Linked DNA regions of Homo sapiens: region 1 is linked to region 2. Evidence: promoter capture Hi-C in human tissues and cell types (Jung and others, 2019). All regions are on one chromosome and are shown on one strand. Each heading gives the region's core, a stretch centred on a gene start or on the middle of the fragment in contact. The rest is flanking DNA. Distances are from core to core; before and after follow the strand shown.

Region 1 (4,638 bases), core at 96-2,595, 140 kb before region 2:
GTCTTGCTCTGTCACCCAGGCTGGAGTGCAGTGGCACGATCTTGGCTCACTACAACCGCCACCTCCCGGGTTCAAGCAATTCTCCTCCCTCAGCCTCCTGAGTAGCTGGGATTACAGGCGACCACCACCATGCCTGGCTAATTTTTGTATTTTTAGTAGAGTCGGGGTTTCTCCATGTTGGCCAGGCTGGTCTCAATCTCCTGACCTCAGATGATCCGCCCGCCTGGGCCTCCCAAAGTGCTGGGATTACAGGCGTGAGCCACCATGCCCAGCCCTGACCAGCTTTTCTGAAAACAAGTCTCTTGTTCTTATACAGATATTCCTCGCAGAATGGTAGGGATAACAAGGAGTGGGGGTCACTAGTGTGTGTCTATACTTAGTCTAAAATCATCAGGAATTAAAGTAAATTTCTGTTCTCTAGGTTTTCCTCTCTCCATGAAAGATTTTCCTTTATGAAAGAAGAAATAATTATCTCTCTAGGACCACACAGTGGGTTTGAAGCAATATAATTTGTTACAGACTCTTACAATCTTTGATATTGGTAATTTTAAATTCTTTCTTACGATTAAATTACTTTAACCCCCACAAAAAGCCATATTCAGGGAGTTAGAAATCGCTAAATGACCTGCAGAGGCCTACCCTTAAGATCTAAGGGTAGCTCTCTGCCAGCTCATTGAGTTGGTGGTGAGGAGGTCAGTGAGTTAGAATTCAGCAAGAACACAGACTAACTGTGTGATTTTTTCTTTTTTTCAAAATTCTCCGACCCTGAAGGAGTTAGATAACAATTAAATGAAATCACCTGTTTCAGAAAATGTCTAAACACAGGAAAGGATGTGTCATTAATGCAGCCACTGTGCTCCTGACCAGAGGCAGGGGGATGGCCCCACTTGTCCTACCTCACTTTGCACCCACAGTCCCCTGTGTGCTGCTGCCACCTGGTGCCCATCTCTGCTTTCACGTGGGCACAACTCAGTCGTGCCACAGGCCACTTCTGCCCTCTACTGCCCATTGAGAGACTTCCTGAACTCTTACCCATCAATGAGGCCAAAGAAACTGGACAAGAGACAAGCATTTTTCTGATAGCCCCCTTTTGCCAGCCAGCATGACTACTCCTGGAGAACTCAGCCAATTCCAAATCTCTCTTTGCTTTGACTAGAAAACTCCACATGTACCCAAAACAACAACAACAATACAAATGTCTGTAAGTGAAATTGCATTTTGGCCAGGTGGGGAGACTTACGCCTGTAATCCCAGCACTTTGGGAGGTCGAGGTGGGCAGATTGCTTGAGCTTAGGAGTTCAAGACCAGCATGGGGAACATGATGAAACCCTGTCTTTACAAAAAATACAAAAATTAGCCAGGTGCAGTGGTGTGCACCTGTAGTCCCAGCTACTTGGGAGGCTGAGGCAGGAGAATCACTTGAGCCTGGGAAGTGGAGGTGGCAGTGAGCCGAGACTGTACCATTGCACTCCAGCTCCAGCCTGGGTGACAGGAGTGAAACCCTATCTTTAAAAAAATAATAAAAAATAAATGCATCTGTTGATCCTTTCCCTTACCAACAGGAAAACTGCTGCAGAGTGAGAGTCTTCTAAATGGATTAAGAAGCCTATCTCAATCCCTCTGGAGAGTCCTCTTCAATTCACAATGAAGATGTTGAAGAGCAGGGACAGACATCAACACTCCTCTCCCCACCTTCCCCACTGGCAGAGGCATTCAGGTCACTACTAGTGTCTCTCTTTCTCTTTTCCCCTTCTCTTAATCTCTCACTGCCCTTCTCTCCATGTCATATTCTCTTTTTCTCCTTCCCTCTCTTCCTTCTTACCTACTAAACTCCATATGTACCAAAATCAGTCAAAGCTCTACTATCTAGCTCTCTTTATCTAGACTAAAGGAGTTGTCCACCTCTTGGTCTAGATAACACTTGCAAATAAAGACCTGCTCGTTTCCCAAAGCTAAGTAATTGTTTTAGTTGAGCAACTGGGAAAGGAGGATGGTTTTGTGTTGTACTCTGATGCTATTATCCTTGGATGGAGCGGGGAAGATGTTGCTATTGTCTGCAAGCTTAGCCCATCAGCCCTGCAATGTTTCCATCATGGAGCTCAACTGAGCAACTATTGCACTCTCTGCAGCTGAGCCTCCCTTTTGACATTATAACAGATTTTAAACACTGTGAAGACATGAGAGATTCTAGGGTGGAAGAAGCTAGGTGTCCCTGTTTACATAGGCCCCACTAGATCCCAAAGCTCTGCAGCTCAGGTCTCAGAATTCCCCTTTGTCTTCAGTCTGAGAGTTACCTACGAGAGCAAGGTTACTCAGCAGAAGCTTTGCCCTGAGCTACATTTTTGGGCCTCTGCCTGCAGGTGGCATCAACTTGAAAGGACTTGTTGAGGATTACCTTGATATCTCCAAAGAGGCTCTCATCCACCTCAGAGCTCACGGCTTTGGTCCGATAGCGAGCCTTATTCCTTGACCTGTTGGAAGCGGCAGAAGAGGAGCTCAGGATGCCAGCTGTGCTTAGTGGCTGCAGGAAGAGGCAGAAAGTTTGGGTCATCAGTACTGAGTGGCATCCAGACCCTGGGAAGTCAACAATTCACCAGCCCATGCTGGGGGAGTGGGTGGGCATGTGAAAAAGAAACAGTTAGGGAAAGCGGCTGTGTAAACTCTGAACCATAGGGGACAAGGAGCAACAGATGGAGGGCATCCCCACAGAGCAGGGAAGGGTCTCTGCAAAAAAAAGAGCTCTGCATAAAGCAGCATTTGTGTAAAACAGTTGATCTCATAGAAGTACAGAGTAGAATGGTGGTTACCAGAGGCTGAAGAGAGGAAGGGGAGGGGCATGGGGAGAGGTTGGTCAGTGAGTGCGCAGTTACAGTTAGATAGGAGGAATAAGTTCTGGTGCTCTATTGCACAGAAAGGCCACTATAGTTAATAATAATGTACTGTATATCTCAAAAGAGATACACAATATCTAGGAGAGGATTTTGAGAAATATAAATGTTATAAGATTAAATGAGATGGCAAGGTCTAGTATTTGATAGCGCAATAGAATGACTAGAGTTAACAATAATGTATATTACTATATATAAATGTATATTAATATACATGTATACAATAATATATATAAATATACATGTATACAATGTATATTAATTTACATTGTATATTTCAAACTAGCTAGAAGAGAGAATTTTGAGTGATCTCACTGCAAAGAAATGACAAGTGTTTGAGGTAATGGATATGCTAACTACCCTGATTCAATCATTACACAATGTATATACATGTATCAAAACATCACACTATACCCCATAAATGTGTACAATCATTATGTGTCAATTAAAAACAAAACTGTTTTGTTTTTTGTGGGGTTTTTTTAAGAGCATTTCTGTAGTCCCTGAAGCTGAAGGCCAAGTCGGCCACATAGTATGGAAGTAAGGATAAAGGAAGCAGGAATGGCAGGAGGAGAGAAGCAACAGTTTCTCATTATCTGCCTAGTACCAGTTTCCCAAGAGGACAATCTCTTGTGGGGCAACTTGGGCTTGCCCCCTGAGACACGCACAGTGTCCCCTTTGCCTCCAATCTTTTCAGCTTGTGCTTCAAGTCTTTCTCACAAATGACGCTACTGTTTGACCTCCTTCGTGTCTCCACAATCTTACAAGGTTATGGTGGGACCACAGGATATAAAGGATGGAAAAGTGCCTCACCCACTGCTTGGCATGTGGTTGATGCCCAATAAACTTGAGGCAGTGGGTGAATGATAAATGATTACTAGCTATAATCAAGCAAACCAGTTCATAATACCCACTATTTGGCTGTTTCTCTCCCAAGACCCTTTTAGTGTGCCTTAGTCATTTTTTAACCCCCTACTAACTTCCTATTTTGGCAAATTCCCCATCTAATGAGTTGTGGGAGATAGTGCTCTTCTCCAACTACAGAAGCTGAAAACATCAAATATTCACCTCAGCCTGGCCAAGGGACCTAGGCTTAGCCAATGAGATGGCCCTGGACTGACAATGACTAGGGAACTAGTGGACCAAAAGGCAGAACAAGGAAAACCTTTCTGACCCAAACAGAACTGGCAGCCAGACCCAGCGTCTGGGCAACACTGATAACGATACCAGCAGCGGCACCCTATGTAAGGAATTGGCAGTTTTGGGGGTGCAACAGTGCATCAGGGTCCTTGCCAGACCAGTTCTAGGTTTTGATTTTGGTCTTGGTTCCAGCTGCAGAAACTTCTTTTGTTCCTATTTGTGAGCTCTCCAAAACCCTCTTAACACATTCTCTTTTACTTAAATTGGAATTCTGGCTCTGTTGCTTGTAACTAAGAATCTGACGAACACAACCTCCATTCCCAAAGGACAGGCAGCTTCATCTCAGTCCCAAGAGTAGACGTCTATCTCTAAAAGGTAGTGTCTACAAGGACTACTGGATGACTCCAGGCTTATGATAAAGCTGATTCAAACCTCACTTTGGAGGAGCCCACATGCCCCACACCTCTCTAAACTGGGCTACCTTGAAGGAATAGGCCAGGCACATTGGGTCTCCCCAAGCCTGGGAATCAGCAGCTGATAAAGGAACAGGGTAGACAGGGAAATATACCATGCTTTCCAGGTCCCTAAGCCCTGGACAGTGTTCTGAAAG
Region 2 (4,801 bases), core at 937-3,436:
ACAGGGTCTTGCTCTGGGCTCAAGCAATTCTCCCACCTCAGCCTCCCATGCAGCTATGACTACAGGGGTGCACCACAACACCTGGCTAATTTTTTTTTTTTTTTTTGAGACTAGGTCTCACCATCTTGCCCCAGGTGGGTCTAGAACTCCTGAACTCAAGCGACCCTCCCACCTCAGCCTCCCAAAGTGCTGAGACTACAGGCAAGGGCCACCATACACAGTTTAAGAATATTTTTTGGATTTTCACAGCTGTCAGGAAAGCTTTAGAAAGAAAAGATGGGTGTTAAAAGTTAAGACACAGCTTAAGACAGAAGCATTGTAAAACAGGAACAAATACTGGCTTAAACCTGATGTCTCTAACTATATTCCTCTATTTTAAGAATGTTTTAGTATCTGATAGTTTCATCAGCCTTTCCATTTTCCAATATGTGACCTTTATTCCCACCATGTCCCAAATAAACGAGTCCTAGGATTTCCTAGAAGGTGGACCTCAATTATTGTGTCCCTTTTATATATAAGGCAAACATTGCTTTTAAGTTCTGTTGGAACATGGGAACTTTCACTAGAATGCTTAGAATGTTCAGAAAAAATGTCCCAAAGCTCTCTTCTGGTCCATACAAGACAATCAGAATGTAACACAGTAGCAGAGGGTGTGGAACATACACTAGTCATATTTGATTCTCTCTGTCAGGGGTTCTTCTTTGTAATGGGAAATAATTTGAATCAGGATGGAACAATTGATAAGAAGAAAGAACAAACCAGCTAACCAAATAAACAGAAAGGTGTTCTTTCCTTGAAACTCTAGAACATAGGCAGGAGCCAGCCACATGGCCTGCCCTATAAACCATAACATTAGGAGAACTACAGCTCTTTTCCAAGGCATTCTGACTAGTGGCATCACAAGAGGCAGTAAGCAGAGGTACCAAAGAAAGTACTGGGAGGTGCAGACTTTGTTAAAAGTCACAAAAATGGACGTATGAAGAAAACAACAAAAAACGAGGTCTCTGTAATAGGCGAAAGACACAGCTGAAAGCAAGATGAGCTGTGGCAGGAATGCAGCAATTCCCAGGGAAAAACTCCACTTGCTCTCTGCAGTCAAATACAGCATGTAGAAGTACGGAGAAAAGTTGTGACGGATATCCCGCCTAGTCAGGTGATAAAAGTAGGTGTGTTCCAAAAATTCCCAGCCGTACTCATAGTAAAAACCAAAGCTCAGGGCAAAAAACGTGAGTCCAGCAACTGCTACAAACAGCAGCACAGCCCGATTACACAGCCTTTTCAGGAGCTCGTACAAACAAGCCTGGAAAGTGTACCGGAATTGACGGAGGCTTTTGTCATTGTCGCGATCTGGAAGCAGGTGGAGGGTTATGGGAAGGATGTAAGTCACTGGATATATCTTCATATGCACCGCGAAACCATAGAATACAGCTGCACACGCGACGAGTCTTTTCTTTATCAAGTAGAGGACCATCAGGACCAGGGAGGCGACAATAGAGTCCGCATTACCGCGGCTGGATACTGCCATAGGCAGGGGGTTAAGAAGCCAAAAGACACAGTAGCCACAAGCCTGGCGGCGCCCCAGCCCCTTCAGCAGCAGCAGGCGGTATAAGAGGAAAGCGGTGAGGAGGTCGCAGCTGATGAAGAGAAACTTTCCAAAGAGCTCGCTGAGGTAGATGTTGGGAGTGAGGAGCCAACCCAGCAGCGGGGTGTAACGGTACGTGGCTCTCAGGTAAGGCGAGCGCCCCTCCGTGACGAAGCGCGCGGCGTCGGTGAAGACCTGGTAGTCGATGTCCGTATACCTCACGTGCAGGGTCCGGTCCTGGAAGACGCCATAGAAAACCAGGGCGACTCTGGCTAGAAAGGCCACACCAAAGACGCCGGCTGGAGCCACCTTCAAGTTCAGGAGCCATTCGCCCCAGTGCTTGGTGGAGCCCATGATCTGACCGTGCGACAGCTGCTTAGCCCCAGCTCCAAACTGCCTTCGTACTTCTAACCTTCCCTTCGGTTCTTTGCAGCAGGTGGCCGCCGCATCTCCCACCCGCCAGGCTGCCAACCGAAACGACTGCAGACTATCACATCCGGCATGAAGCCCCGCCCCCGTACTGCTACCTGTCTCCAGCCCCGCGCGGTCTTCTCAGCCGCCCGAGCCAAAAACTTGCCTTCCTCTGGATGGACGGTCTCGCTTCCGCTTCTTCTTCCAGCGGAGGCGGGATTTCCGGTCCGTGGGAGGGGAGACGTCCGCTTGCCGGGAAATCCGGCACTGGCTTGAGGATTTTATGGAGTGGAGTGAGATTTCTTTGTAAGTGACAGCCCGCCGCCCCCCGCCCTCTTCCCGCGCCCCATTTCCAGTCCTCAGAGGAAAACCCTCCGACGAGCAGCGAGCTGCGGGCTGCGCGCTACATCCTTCAGTCCTGGGCTGGAGATCCGAGAGTGAAAAATGTAGGAGTGAAAGGAAGATAAGCCTTCTCATGCTTTACTCCACTAGCTCGCCGGTATTCACCGGGGATTTGTGGGCCCCGGACAGGACAGGATGAGTTGAAGGGGGCTGAGTGTGTATGTTCCATGCAATATTGGAGGCATACTTATATTTTTAAATTACTAGTTGGTAATCAGAGATTCAGATTTAAGTGGGCAGCTTGTATTTTATCCGGCAACCCTAGGTGAAGGTGATGGGAAAGAAGACAGGAAAGCGTCACAAAATTCCTTAACTTGTCAGCCCCTTATGCCTCAGTATCTCTGTATTTGCTATTTCTTCTGTCAAAGTTGCCATCCGCTCTCCAATCACTCTGGCAAATACCTACTCAACCCTTCAGGCATCAGTGCAAGTGTTAGCTCCCAGCTCCCACTCACTTCCTCATCACGCAGAATGAATGACTTAGATGCCAGTCCCCTCCCCTGTCCGAGGATAGGTAGACTGGGGCGGACGGGATCTAAGTTCCAGAAAATCACTCACACAGAAGACCCTGCCATGCTACTAAAAGTTCTCCCAGTGCTCCAGAACTCCCTGGTCATTCCTTTGTTACAGCATTTGTCACACTGCTTTGTAATAACTGTTTTTGTTTGTTTTGCTCTCCTAGTTTTCCATCAGGACACTTTCAATTCTTCGGTATCAGAGATTATCTTGTTCTTTTCTCTACCTCAACATCTAACACAGTACTAGTAGCCATTCAGTAAAGTTGAATTGATTTTAGAGGTTCCTCCTACCAGAATATTTCTAGAGTGGCATCTTTGGATTGCTCCCAACTCCCAGTTATTTTCCCTTTTAAATATCCTTTATGTATGTCAAGGTCCCCTGCTCCCCCCACCCCACTCCAACCCTACTTCCATGAATTTCTTGCCAAGGACTGTAACCCATTAGCTCTTCCCTTTCCGTGGTTACTTAGTGCACTTACATAGTCCGCATTGTAGAATTTGATACTTTATTTTAGATTGTATTCATAGCCCTCACAAGAGATTATAGGGTTCTTGGGGGTAGAAATTATATCTTATCCTTAATTTTTTTCAATTATGTGTAATTTATTGTAGTCTTAGGCACATGGTAAATGCTTAGTAAATACTGACTAATTGGATTTTATAGAATAAGCCTGCTTCCTAGGGGAAGTCTTCTAGACTAGAATAAGGAAAAGGAGGTGACTTCATGCAGTCTGAACATGCAGCTCCCAGAACTACCTGCTGCTCATCCATCCTACACTTCAATTTATCCCTTGGAGATGAACTGTGTTAATCTTATATATTCCATATTCATATTGTGATAGCTCTATGTCCTTTTATATGCCTTGGTATCATTACATGCCTTAGATTGATAATTCTAACCATTTTTTTGCAGTATATTAGCCATATATATAGTGGCAGCACATCACCACTCATATAATGATGATTATGATGATGATGATTACTATTATTTATAATAGCTGGATTTGTTGAGGACTCATTTGCAATGTACCAGGCATTATGCTAAGTACTTTTCATGTAAGGTAGATATTCCCACCTTTACAAATGAAGAAAACCAAGGCTTATGGAGATTAAGTAATTTTCCCAAGTCACATAGCTAACTAGTGACAGTGCTAGAACTCAAAACCCAGTCTGTCTGACCTAGAATATCTTAATCATTATGTGGCTGACTTGCCAATAAAATGTTGATCACAAATTCTAATTTTCCTATGTTTTCTCTTATTGATCTCTCATCTTGATATTCTGGATATTCTCTCTCACTGTGACTCTTTCTACCTCTGATTTATTCTTTTCTTCTGCAAATAATAGATAAGTGAGGCTTAGTTCCCTAAGATAGAAAATATGGGAGGTAGGTGTCTGAGGATTAACTAAGTAAGGGTCCTTGTGGCTGGATTGGTTTCAGTAGTATAGCAGAAAGGTTTCAGTCAATCTGTCCCTACATGGCTGTCCTAGTAGAGAGATGGGAGGCACCAAATTTAGGCAGATAAGGAAACAACTAATAAAAAAATAAAATAAAAAAAAAACTAAGCATGTCACTGAAGTCAAAGGAGTGAGATGTAGATAGCAGTTGTGGGAACGAAGAAGAGACTGGAATCTGTAAAACAAATTGGACAGAGAGGTCCAACTTTAGTTACTATTTCTGGGTGGAAGAGATACATCACAGGGTCCGAGGACCCCATATTGAACTTTTTGCATTGGGTTTAGGGATTGTATTTTCTCACCTCTTTCTGAAAGAGTTACATTTTTTTCAAATGCTCAACTGTTCATTACCTCTCGGACTGTTACTTACAATCCTTCTTAATTCCCCCTTTCACTATCTGCTCCTAGATTTCTATCCTTTTAGAGCCAA

What was found. Contacts are between HindIII fragments. The study calls those that stand out against the background at their distance.
Region 1: a fragment that was not itself captured here is called in contact with the fragment with the promoter of PIGM in region 2 in 1 of the 25 tissues and cell types used here (mesendoderm cells).

The regions. Positions count from the first base shown.
Region 1 is chr1:159,890,785-159,895,422 of GRCh38, forward strand. CFAP45 (cilia and flagella associated protein 45) reads right to left here. Exons shown (of 12, transcript NM_012337.3): 2 at 2,396-2,521. It overlaps LOC124904434 (a long non-coding RNA gene), which reads left to right. Exons shown (of 3, transcript XR_007066678.1): 2 at 1,563-1,717; 3 at 2,361-2,442. Among named protein-coding and RNA genes, the nearest start is that of MIR4259, 7.0 kb to the right of the region's middle. The HindIII fragment of the contact is 4,491 bases long and covers 1-3,591 here.
Region 2 is chr1:160,029,804-160,034,604 of GRCh38, forward strand. PIGM (phosphatidylinositol glycan anchor biosynthesis class M) reads right to left here and starts at 2,187. Exons shown (of 1, transcript NM_145167.3): 1 at 1-2,187. The coding sequence starts at 1,936. The coding sequence ends at 665. The HindIII fragment of the contact is 11,020 bases long and covers 1-4,801 here.